Linked DNA regions of Homo sapiens: regions 1, 3 and 4 are each linked to region 2. The links are contacts of gene promoters, found by promoter capture Hi-C in human tissues and cell types (Jung and others, 2019). All regions are on one chromosome and are shown on one strand. The core of a region is centred on a gene start or on the middle of the fragment in contact, and the rest is flanking DNA. Distances in the headings are between cores, read along the strand shown. Region 1 overlaps PRKCA (protein kinase C alpha). Region 2 holds the start of CACNG4 (calcium voltage-gated channel auxiliary subunit gamma 4). Region 3 overlaps HELZ (helicase with zinc finger). Region 4 overlaps PRKCA (protein kinase C alpha).

What was found. Contacts are between HindIII fragments. The study calls those that stand out against the background at their distance.
Region 1: a fragment that was not itself captured here is called in contact with the fragment with the promoter of CACNG4 in region 2 in 2 of the 25 tissues and cell types used here (H1 embryonic stem cells and mesendoderm cells).
Region 3: a fragment that was not itself captured here is called in contact with the fragment with the promoter of CACNG4 in region 2 in 2 of the 25 tissues and cell types used here (H1 embryonic stem cells and bladder).
Region 4: a contact is called between a fragment that was not itself captured here and the fragment with the promoter of CACNG4 in region 2, in 2 of the 25 tissues and cell types used here (H1 embryonic stem cells and IMR-90 fibroblasts).

What each region holds. Positions count from the first base shown.
Region 1 is chr17:66,742,870-66,745,569 of GRCh38, reverse strand. The region is part of intron 13 of PRKCA (protein kinase C alpha); the gene reads right to left. Among named protein-coding and RNA genes, the nearest start is that of MIR634, 43 kb to the left of the region's middle. The HindIII fragment of the contact is 3,364 bases long and covers 1-2,700 here.
Region 2 is chr17:66,963,425-66,966,230 of GRCh38, reverse strand. CACNG4 (calcium voltage-gated channel auxiliary subunit gamma 4) reads right to left here and starts at 1,524. Exons shown (of 4, transcript NM_014405.4): 1 at 1,100-1,524. The coding sequence starts at 1,319. The HindIII fragment of the contact is 19,073 bases long and covers 1-2,806 here.
Region 3 is chr17:67,151,419-67,154,172 of GRCh38, reverse strand. All of the region lies in intron 17 of HELZ (helicase with zinc finger), which reads left to right. Among named protein-coding and RNA genes, the nearest start is that of HELZ-AS1, 92 kb to the left of the region's middle. The HindIII fragment of the contact is 4,410 bases long and covers 1-2,754 here.
Region 4 is chr17:66,777,306-66,780,255 of GRCh38, reverse strand. All of the region lies in intron 14 of PRKCA (protein kinase C alpha), which reads right to left. Among named protein-coding and RNA genes, the nearest start is that of MIR634, 8.3 kb to the left of the region's middle. The HindIII fragment of the contact is 5,157 bases long and covers 1-2,950 here.

The DNA of each region.
Region 1 (2,700 bases), core at 74-2,573, 220 kb after region 2:
AGCTGGGATTACAGGCACCTGCCACCACACCCGGCTAATTTTTGTATTTTTTAGTAGAGATGGGGTTTCACTATGTTGGCCAGGCTGGTCTTGAACTTCCACCTCAATTGATCCACCTGCCTTGGCCTCCCAAAGCACTGGGATTGTAGGAGTGAGCCACTGTGCCCAGCCAAGAGAAAGTTTATCATGTGCCTGGCACACGGTAGACAATAGAAGGTGGTCACTTCCTCTATTATTGCTTGTACAGTAGATGTAAGGAGGGGAATGAAGGCTTCAGATGTGAAAGTATCTAGAGCAAGAACAGAGTATTCTCTGTGTATGAAGAGGCCCGAAGTTACCAAGACATGACAGAAGTGTGTTTAGGTGTCCCTGTTGAGGACAGTGAGGAGGTTCTCCAACATATAACAAGTGTGATAGACTAAGTCCCCTCTCCCCAACAGATGTCCACATCCTTATCCCTGGAACCTGTGAATCTATTACCTTTATGCATTAAAAAGGATTTTGCAGAGGCAAATTAAGGATCTTGAGCTAGGGAGATGATCCTGGATTATCCAAGTGGGCCCCATATAATCCCAAAGATCCTTGTAGGAGAAGAGGGAGGCTGGAGGGTTGTAGTTGGAAAAGACAGAGAGATTGGAAGATGCTACGTTGCATGGGGGAGGGAAGAAGACACCACGAACCAAGGAATGCAGGTGGTGGCCTCTTGATGTTGGAAAAGGCATGGATGGCAACAGGTTCTCCCCTAAAGCTTCCAGAAGAAACCAGCCCTGCCCACAGCTTGACTTTAGTCCAGTGAGGCTGATTTTGGACTTCTGATCTCCGGAACCACATGATAATAAATCTGAGTTATTTTAAACTGCTGAGTTTGTGGTTATCTGTTACAGTGGCAACAGGAACTCATACCGTGAATGATACCGAACCGCAACAACAAAAAAAGACAAGACACTCAAATGGACAAACCTTAATGATATGGAAAATTTTGTCTCTACTGGACACTGTTGTTCCTGGTGTTATTAGATAGCTGAGGTGTTACTGAACACAAGGAGCTATTTGTCGGAACAGGAGAGACCTGGTCTTAATAGAGATGAGGTTCAATGCCACCTTTATTCCTAAAAAAGCTGCCATTCCCCATCACTAAGCTTTTACATCATCTGCTGAATTGTTCAATGAAGGCTGAATGGCTCATAATCACAGCCTGCTTAATACCTGTCATTTAGTAACAGGCTTCAGAATAAATACTACATCAAGAGATTGTATTTCTGACAGTACCCTGACTATTCCTCATATTTGAAAAATAAGACTATTTAATTTCACCTCATGTCTGTAGGTACTAATGAGGGAGTTCTTTTGGGGGAAAATCCCAGTAAGTTATGCAGCAAGATCACATATCACCTCTGGCCATGCGATTCAGAATTTAAGTTTCTAAATGAAGTCTATGTGTCCACGCTGTCTTGAAATATCATAAAACTACAAGGTCTTCACAAAGGAATAAAAAGCAGCTTCCCTTTTGGAATAATGACTATGGAGGGTCTACTAGATGCAAAATGTTGTATTAGGCACTTCAGTCCACACAGCAATTCTACAAGGAGGATATTATCCCTAAGGTGCCGCTGAAGAAACGGGGTTCAGAGACGTTAAGTAACTCACCCGAGTTCCCACAGTCTGTAAATAACAGATTCCAGATTGAAGCTCACATGGGTCTGACTTCTGAGCTTGTGGGTGCCTTTTTCACTATCCCTACTGTCTCTGAGATAAATGCATGGGGTAATCTGTTGAATAAATGTGAGACCGGCTGCCAACAGCTCATCTGAGGGCTCTGTGAAGAGCTGAAGCCAGCTCAGCTTTGGATCCATTGGTCTCCACCATGCTGGGTACAGATGGGAAAAAACTGTGGCATCCATAGGACTGTGTGTGGATGGAAAGTTGGCTCTACAGTGACTACAGTGACAACCCATTCTATCATTGGCATGTGGGATGTTTCATAAAACAGGAAAAAAAATCCTCTGTAAGTGTTATAACAAAAGCAGAGCAGCACAGCCGCTGCTGTCAAGATACAAGTCCTGGAACCATTTTGCTTAGAACCACACTGACACATTCTTCCTAGACCAGACAACATGCAGTTTAGAACAGTCATCACCGCGATGCTGCTAATACACCATCACTGCAACCCCCGTCTCACCCCGCCTTCCAGGCAGAGTATTTTCACAAGTAATTCCCTCCACTCAACAGTATTTCTTTTTTTGGGGGGACAGAGTCTTGCTGTCACCCAGGCTGGAGTGCAATGGCATGATCTCAGCTCACTGCAACCTCTGCCTCCTGGGTTCAAGAGATTCTCCTGCCTCAGCCTCCTGAGTAGCTAGGTATTACAGGTGTGCACCACCATCCCTGGCTTTTTGTATTTTTAGTAGAGATGGGGTTTCACCACGTTGGCCAGGCTGGTCTTGAACTCCTGACCTTATGATCCACCCACCTCGGGCTCCCAAAGTGCTGGGATTACAGGCGTGAGCCACCGCGCCCAGCCAACAGTGTTTCTTAAATGATTTTGACCATGACCATGTAACAAATACATTTTCCCAAGCAACTGGCTCACATGGAGCAAACAACAGTTCCAGGAAGCAAGACACAACCTTACTATGTGCAATGGGCTCTCCTATTTCCTCTATTTTAGTCTGTTTTGTCCAGTTTAGTCCATTTAGTGGC
Region 2 (2,806 bases), core at 275-2,774:
CCCAGCCACCTGTTAGTTCAAGTTCCGCAGCCGGGCAGAAGGGCGCCCGGAAGGCGCCGAAGCCGAGCGCATTTTGGCGTTGGAGGCATCCAGGCCCCTCCCCAGTAGGGAGCTGTCCCCACGGTCCCGGGGCTGAAATCCTGGTCCCCTAGCATTCCAGCCTCATGACACCTACTACTCAGCCTCCAGTCGCATTTGGGGGTCGCAGCGCCCAGCTCCGACGAGATGACCACGCCCCTCCCAGTCTGTTCCCGGTCCGCAGATCGGTCCTGCACACCCTAGTTTCCTACTGAGGTCTCCGCAGCCTCCCTGCTGAGGGGCCGCGACCGAGGTCGCTGTCTCCGTTGGGGGAGACTCGGTGTCGCTCCCCTTACCACCCCACCGCACAGCGAGGAGCGGGCCGGTGACTCCGTGGGAGACGAGGCGGGCGTCGGGCTGGGCCTACCCAGCTACCCTAGATCCGCTAGGAACTCAGCCCCTACCCCGGCTCCGACCGCGCCCCCGCCCCTACTTCTGCCCCTACTTCTGCCCCCACCCCTCAGCCCGAGCCTGTAGAAAGCGCCCAGCGGCACCGACGCGCCCCGCCCCCGGCCGGCCCCGCCCCAGGATGGCCAGTTCCCATAGCAATAGCACAGACACCGGTTGCCAAGCAACCCCTCCCCCCCTCCCGTCCGCTCCCCCCAACCCCAGCCTCCTCCCGCCCCCTCGCCAGCCTCCACCTCCCCCGGGGGTGCCGGCGCGGCCCCTGGGGATCGCTCGGGTCCCGGGCTACGCGCGCGTGCTTGAGTTTCGGTGTGTTTCATTGTGTCTGTGGGCGAGGGGGTGTGCGCGTGGAGAGTTTGTGGGATCGGTGTGCTGGGGAGGTCCCCAGCCGAGAGGGACCAGAGCTGATGTACAGCTGGCCGCGAAGGGACCCGCCCGCCAGCTCCGGCTCCTTTGTGTCTCGCGCGGAGCCAGCGCCGCGCCCACCCTCTCCCCGGCCCGCGCGCCGGGCAGTGTGTGCGCGTGTGTGTGTGTGCGCGCGCGCGCGCGCGCGTGTGTATATGTGTGTGTGTGTGTGTGTGTGTGTGGGGCGGCGAGGGGTCGGGGCTGGCCGTACCTTCGATGCAGCACACCCGCCACAGACCAGAGTGGGTGAGGTCGCCGCGGGCGCGGCGGGGCGGGGGCCCGTCGTCCATGGTCAGGTTGGTGCCGTTGCAGATGTGCGCGCTGGAGTACAGCCAGTAGTCGGTGCCGATGGCGATGGCCATGAGCGAGAAGGCGGCGAAGGCTCCGGCCGTGGTCAGCAGCATCTGCAGCCCGCGGTCGCATCGCACCATGGTGGGCGCCTCATAGTCCGCCGCCCGCCGGCCCGGCCCGCCGCGCCCGCCCGCCCTCCTCCCTCCGCGCGCCGCTCCGGGGGCGCCGGGGTTGGGGGGCCGAGGGCCGGGGGGCGGCGCCGCGCTGCGCGCTCCGACCCCGCGCCCCGGGCGTGCCTGCGCTCCGGCAGCGCTGGGGCTCAAACTCCGAGGCGCGGCGACGAGTGCGGGCTGCGCGGCCGCCGGGCGGGCTGGCGGCGGCGGCCGGGGGCTCCTCCCTCTCCGCTCGCCCTCCCCCCTCGGCCCGCGCCTCCGCCCTGCGCCCTCCGCGCCTCCCCCGCCGCCGCCGCGCTCCGGGTCCGCGCCCCGTTTCTCTCGGCGCCGCCCCTCGAGCCTCGGCCCCCGCCCGGCTGTGCGCTCCTCTGAGCTCCCCTCTCTCCCCAGCCAGGATTTTCTCCCCCTCGCCTCCCTTCCCCTCGCCTCCCCTCCCCTCCCTTCCCCTCCCCTCCCCGCGCCCGCGCGCGCTCTCTCTCTCTCCCAGAGTTCATTCACATTATTGGAGTGAAGGAAGCCGAGGGAAGTGTTCCCCAGGAGGACCGAAGGGAAAGCGCGTCTCCAGCCACCTCTCTTACCCGCCCAGGACATCCAGCCTCCCCTCCGACGGCCCTGCGGATTCTTTAATTTGTGGAGGAGGGCGTGGGTGGGTGTGTCCCTCCTTTCCCCTCTGTGCCTGTTCACCTGGTGATGAAGGTGAGTGTGGGAGTGCGTGTTCAGGTCAGAATTCCTGAAACCCCAGATGTGGGACACAGCTGCCAGACCCTGCAAGCCACGCCAGGCCCGGGCCAGGCCCCACCCCAACCCAGGTGGTTCCTGCTCCTCCAGATCCCCTTGCAGGGCCTGGAAGGACCCTGACTTGGGGTTGAGGGAGAAGGGCGATGACAGCGAGAAGTCCTTTGGGGAGAACACAGGGTCTCTGCTTTCTAGAGTGGTGGCAAGGCTGAGATTGAAGATGGGGCGTTCCTCTGTGCTCACATTTCTGAGGGTCTATTACTGCTAGAGTCCAGGGACACTCCAGTTGTGTTAGATTCCAACACTCCACCCGCCAGCCTTTTCCCTTTCTCTCCCAACCTTTCGCAATGCCTTTATTTCGTTTTGCCTTTTGCTCTGCTCGAGCTTAACCGGCTTTCCCTCCCCTGGCCTTTATTGTCAGCCTCTGACCCCAACCCCTGCTGGCTTCACTTAATTGCCTTTGCTGCTGGCCGTGATCCCAACCTGGACACACTCCCTTCTCCAGGGAGCCGGTCCGGACTCCTCCTTCCAGACCCAGCTCCAAACCCCTCCCTCCAGGAGGTTCTCAGAGCCCAGCATCAGGAGGTGCAGCACCCTTTGACATGTCCAGGTGGTCCTGTTGTTGGCATCCCTGGCTGCACTGGACCCCAGGATATGGAAAAAGGTATAGGGAGTGCTGCTATTCTTGCAAGACGAAGCTTAACTTTCTTTGTGGCACC
Region 3 (2,754 bases), core at 31-2,530, 190 kb before region 2:
TATAGGCGTGAGCCATCACGCCTGGCCAAAATATTAATAATTACTCTTTTTAAAAACCTTTTTGGTTTGCTTCCAAAAATAATTTAAGTTTGCTCTAGTAAAATGTGCAGAGGCCATAAAATTGAGAAACATTAATACAAAGTAAGAGACAAGAGCCTAGTAACAAATGGTGGCTCTTTGAGAAAAGGAAATTATTACCAAAATTTTAGACTAACTGAAGGCATGCCAATTAAGCACCAGATTTTGCTCTTAAACTTTTTTGGAAGCTGAGTAGAAATTATCCTTTTGTTCCATATGATGACTTATTAAATAAAATACTTTGCACAATATGTGCTTTTAGATGGAGTAAACAACATACCTTTTAAATAATTATTTTGATTGCCTATATTCATATCATGATGCTACCTTTTTGCATTTGTGCAGTGTACATTGAATATTAACTGAGTGTTTAGAAATGCTGATTTTAGTTTCAGCTTTGCTGTGGGTGAAGGGAAGTGGGGGGGCTTCTGTTTGTTGGTGCCAGGCATTATGCTACATATTATACATCTGTTATCTCATTTGATTTCCCCAAATCCTTAAGAAGTTGAATTATTATACTCATTTTGGAAATAAGAAATGAAGCTTAGAGAGGGGAAGAACAGGTTTAAATCCTGGCTGTAAGCCCTTTGGGCTTTGGTTTTCCTAACTAGGGAAGAGGAATAATAGTGATGAAAATAACAATCATCTGATGATCTTTGTAATTTTACTGACGGAGTAGAAGCCATCAGAAGAGAATGCCCACATCTTCCCTTTGATAGAGCATCTGACTTGCATCTCCTTAGTAACTACTTTCCCTCCCATTCTAAACTGTTCTTTTCTAGGGGCCAACCTCTCCTCTTGTGAACGAGCTCTCATCCTTTCCTGGATACACAGCTTCTTCTTTCCTGCATACTTTTTTCTTTGTACAGCATGAAAATATACTATTGTGTCTTGTTTAAAAAAACAAAACAAAAACTCACCTTCACCCGACCTGCATCAGCCTTTAAGCAAAACTTATCCAGACAGTTGTCTATATATACTCCCTGGCACTACCTCCTCTCTTCTCTTTCTTTCTTGAGCTCAAGCTAATCAGATTTCCATCTGTAATTTTACACTAAAACCATCATATTGAGGTTCATCATATTGGTTTCCTTGTTGTTAAGTCCTGTGGTCAGTCTTCATTTTACGTAGCCTCTTAGCAGCATTTAACACAGTTACTCCTATTTCTATCTGAAACACTTGCTTCATTTTGCTTCCAATACCCCATGCTCTCCTGAATTCTCTCCTATTTCTTTGCTCCTTCCCAGGCTCCTTTCCCAGCTTCTGAATGTTGGAGAGGTCCATCAGTCATTCTTCCTTCCACTAGTTGTTTTTTTTTTTTTTTTTTAAATCTACTCTTATTTTCTAGGTAATCTCATCTAGTCTCAAGGTTTAGTATTATCCCAATTGTAGCTATCTTGCCCCAGGCATTCTCCTGAACTCCAAACTTATGTATTGCCTTGCTTACTGGATATATCCACTTGGATATCTACTGAATATGCCCAAAACGAAATTCTGAATTCCCACCCCAAATCCGTTCCTCTTTTTTACCACCTTTGCAAACGCCATCACCATTTATCCAGTTTCAAAGGCGTGGAATCATTCCTTCTCTCAAATTCCACTTCTAGTTCATCAGTAAATTCTGTTGGCGTTACTCTCGAAATGCCTAGTGAATCTGACCATTTTCATATCTCTATTGTTGGCCTAATCCAAGCTACCATCTGCTCTTGTCTGCACTCTTAACAGTAACCTTGTAACTGGTCTCCTTGCTTCTACCCTCTGCTCCTTCCTCCGTGCCGCTCAGTGTTGTGTTGGAGCCAACTTGTATTGGTTTGTTAGAGCTAATCACGTGTACGACTTCTCAGGTTCATGTTCAGTGAAATGCTGGTAGCTTGAAATTACCATGACAGTTTTACACCACAAAAATCAGCAAACACTACAAACCGGAATCCTCTCCCCTTCCTAGCCCTGGAGCCGGGTGTTAAAATATTTACCAGCACACCGCTATCCACCCCCACCATATATGTTCTGCCCAGAGAAACAGAATAGTCCTTTAACAAAATAAGTCATGTCATGTCACTGCCCTGTTGGAACTCTCTGTTGGCTTTTCATCAAACTCAGAGTAAACCCAAGGATTGCTCACAAGCCCTATGTGATCTGCCTGTGTGCTGGAGCATAGTGGATACCTAATGAATCTTTGTTACATGGGTAGGTTAGAGATGGGTGGGTGGATGAGTAGATGGATGGATGAGTCATTTCTGTGTCATTTTAATAATCCATTGCGTGAGGCCTATTAATATTTTTCTTTTGCAAATAATGGAAGTACTTAAGACTTTCCAGTTGTTCAAACTTTAAATTTATTCTTAAATTTCCAGAACCTCAGACAGAGGTCTACTTAAGTATAGGTATAAGAATATATTCTAAAATAAAATGAAAATAACCTTTGAATTCCTGTTATAAGTATGCAATTCACTGTTTTTTGTTAGCATAAATAGTTAAAATATGAGTCAATGTATTTTTGTAAGAACGTTCTAGAAAAAGATAATTCCAGAATGGGAATGTTTTGAACTTAAAAAATTGTAGTGCTTATAAATCTTACGTTTATGTGCCATTCTGTTGCAAGATTACTCTGAACACTTAAAAATAATTAGGTGTTTATTTTGTGGTACTGCATATACTTTCTATGTCTGTCATTTT
Region 4 (2,950 bases), core at 187-2,686, 190 kb after region 2:
CCACTGTTCCATGGCACATTTACAATTGCTTCCAGCATGTACCCTCATCACTAACGCTACTAGAGACACCTGTGCATATCATTGTTTTCTTCTCTGAATCACATCCCCATAATAACGTCCCAGGTGTGGCATCCTGCAGCCTAAAAAAATGTGAACACATTTACGGCCTTTGTTAAGTCTCTCTAGGCTCAAGTCTCCCTGGAGCATCTGACAGGTAATCACTCGCTCTCAGGCCCTGGCGTTGAAGGCAAGGGAACGGTGAAAAGTTACTAATTCTATTCCTTTTCCTTTCTGGTACTGCCAGCCACTTAGCCTGGGGACCATGGGGGTAACGTGTCACTCAGGTGCTTTAGTACATTACCATTTTGGATGCCTTCTCTCGCCTCTTTCCCCCATTCCCATGGTTTTTAATTTCTACAAATTTGGACTCAATGTTCCAGGCTAAGCTACCTGTTGAAAAGTCTTGGGTTGGTGTAAACATTTTCTGAATGGGTTCTATCCCCTCTCACCCGCTCCTTCCCACTTTAACAATATGTGATTTGTGGAAACCAACACATGAGGAGTGATGGTTCACATTTTGCAAAAAAGGATTCCTAATCACAGCTGTGAGCCACCTCACTGCACTGGTGTGATCTCAGCTAGGAAGTGGTCATGGAGGCCACGCTTATTTGCAAATCACGGAAACCTGGGCTGGGGGCTAGGCATGCTCCCCTGGACAATTCAGGCCGAAGTTAAGATGAAGTGGCGATTACTGATTCAGTAGGAGTGAAATCAAAGCATAAATAACCCAGGGAGAAAAGGGCATAAGGAGAGGGCTGGTCCCTTTATGACGATCACCGAGAACACTTGCAGGCACAAGGTGCTCATTAGAGTGCTGGGTAAACACTATTTATGCCCCAAAAGTGATTGTATTTGTCAAGCAGTCCAGGAACTGAATAAAGACTGAGGCTGTTTATTCTTAACTGCCCCCTTGGCTGCTGACAATAAATAAAGCAAATGAGAAGAAAATGGCAATAAACTATTTTTTTCCTGCTCATCTTCAGCCCTCTGCGATTAAAGAGGACAAACTTAGACCAAAACCCTGTCAACGACTTTATCATTAATCTTACTTTTCAATAACAACATCTATTCCGTTTGCTGGGTCTCTGGGATTGCTGAAGCTTGGAGGGGCTGTGGATAATACTGGGTAGAGCCTTCATTATCCTTTCTGAGCTGAGTGACAGCCTAGGAATACATTTAAATTTGCATTGAGGAGTCAGAGAGAAAGATGAAGAAGGGGATTTGAATGAAAACACTGTGTTTGAGGCGGGTGAGGTGGAGATTTAGAGGAACAAAGGCTGTTATCTGTGCCTGCCATTGCACCAGAATGTGGAGTGCCTTTAAGGAGTTGTTGTTTTTTTTTTTTTTTTTGGAGACAGGGTCTCACTCTCTCACCCAGGCTGGAGTGCAGTGGTGTGATGATCACAGCTCACTGCTAGCCTTGACCCCCCGGGCTCGATCAATCCTCCCACCTCAGCCTCCTACGTAGCTGGGATGACAGGCACTTGCCACCACGCCCAGCTCATTTTTGCATCTTTTGTAGACGGGATTTTGTCATGTTGCCCTGGTCTCGAACTCCTGGACTCAAGTGATCCACCCACCTTGGCCTCCCAAGGGCCCCAAAGGGATGAGCCACTGCACCTGGTCTAAGGTGTCATCTTTAAAGAATATCACCGTTTTCTTTTTTTCTTTTATTTTTTTGAGATGGAGTCTCGCTCTGTCGCCCAGGCTGCAGTGCAGTGGCGCGATCTCGGCTCACTGCAAGCTCCGCCTCCCGGGTTCACGCCATTCTCCTGCCTCAGCCTCCCGAGTAGCTGGGACTACAGGCGCCCGCCACCACACTCGGCTAATTTTTTTTTGCATTTTTAGTAGAGATGGGGTTTCACTGTGTTAGCCAGGATGGTCTCAATCTCCTGACCTCGTGATCCGCCCGCCTCGGCCTCCCGAAGTGCTGGGATTACAGGTGTGAGCCACCGGGCCCAGCCATCACCGTTTTTAATAGAGATGATGGAGACCTGAAAGTATGCATATAAGGCAGGCTAAGTGGCTCTGAGAAGCAGTGTGGGAAATATTGGAAACAGGCCAGAAAGTTTGCAGAACTATTGAGAGCTGGAGCCTGGTGCTCTCCAGGGGGCGTGAGCTTAGTAGGGAAACCTTTAAATAAGGCCTGTAAATCACCTCAGGCCAATTTGCAAATGAGGTCTGAGGCCAGTGTGGCAGAGCTTCAAAATGCACCCCCCAAAGGGGACTTCTCTGCCAGAAGAAAGCATTCCCTGAGTTCTCCCCTAGTGAATGAGATCCCAGGAAGGCTTGGAGAGGGGAGAAGCCAGGCTGCGGGAGGGAGGAGGACTTTCCTGCAGACCTGGGTTCTGAAATTCTTGTCTCCTGCTGGCCAAGAGTCTACTCACGTGACCTCTTGTAAAGCGCCCTCGGAAACAGATCCTGGCTTCGTTTCCGCCCAGCCCCTTTTGCATGTTAGCATATGCAAATGTGACTCTTAATGAAAGCAGGGTTTGTTTTCCAGACTCAAGAGCTGAACATTCAAGTGGGATCAAGAGGGGGACTTGGCTTTTTGTGACTTCATGAAAAGCAGGACTCTTAGGGGGCCTGTAATTCAGAGCCGAATTTTACTGTAAAAATTTTAAAGAGGGGGAAATTAACTTGAGGAGCAGACAACTCCTGTTTCTCCAGCCATTGACTCACTGATGGTGACTGTGTACGAACTGCCTTTCTGTGTTTACACCCGGACGTATTTGGCCTAAGAGGAATGCTTTGATTTGGGGTGGGGGGAGGGGAACTAAATAAATAATAAACCACTCTTTTGATGTCAGTCAAGCCTTAACACCATTGAGAAATAATGATCAAATGCAGGCTAAAGCTTTATGTCTTTCAATGTCTACAAGACCATTTC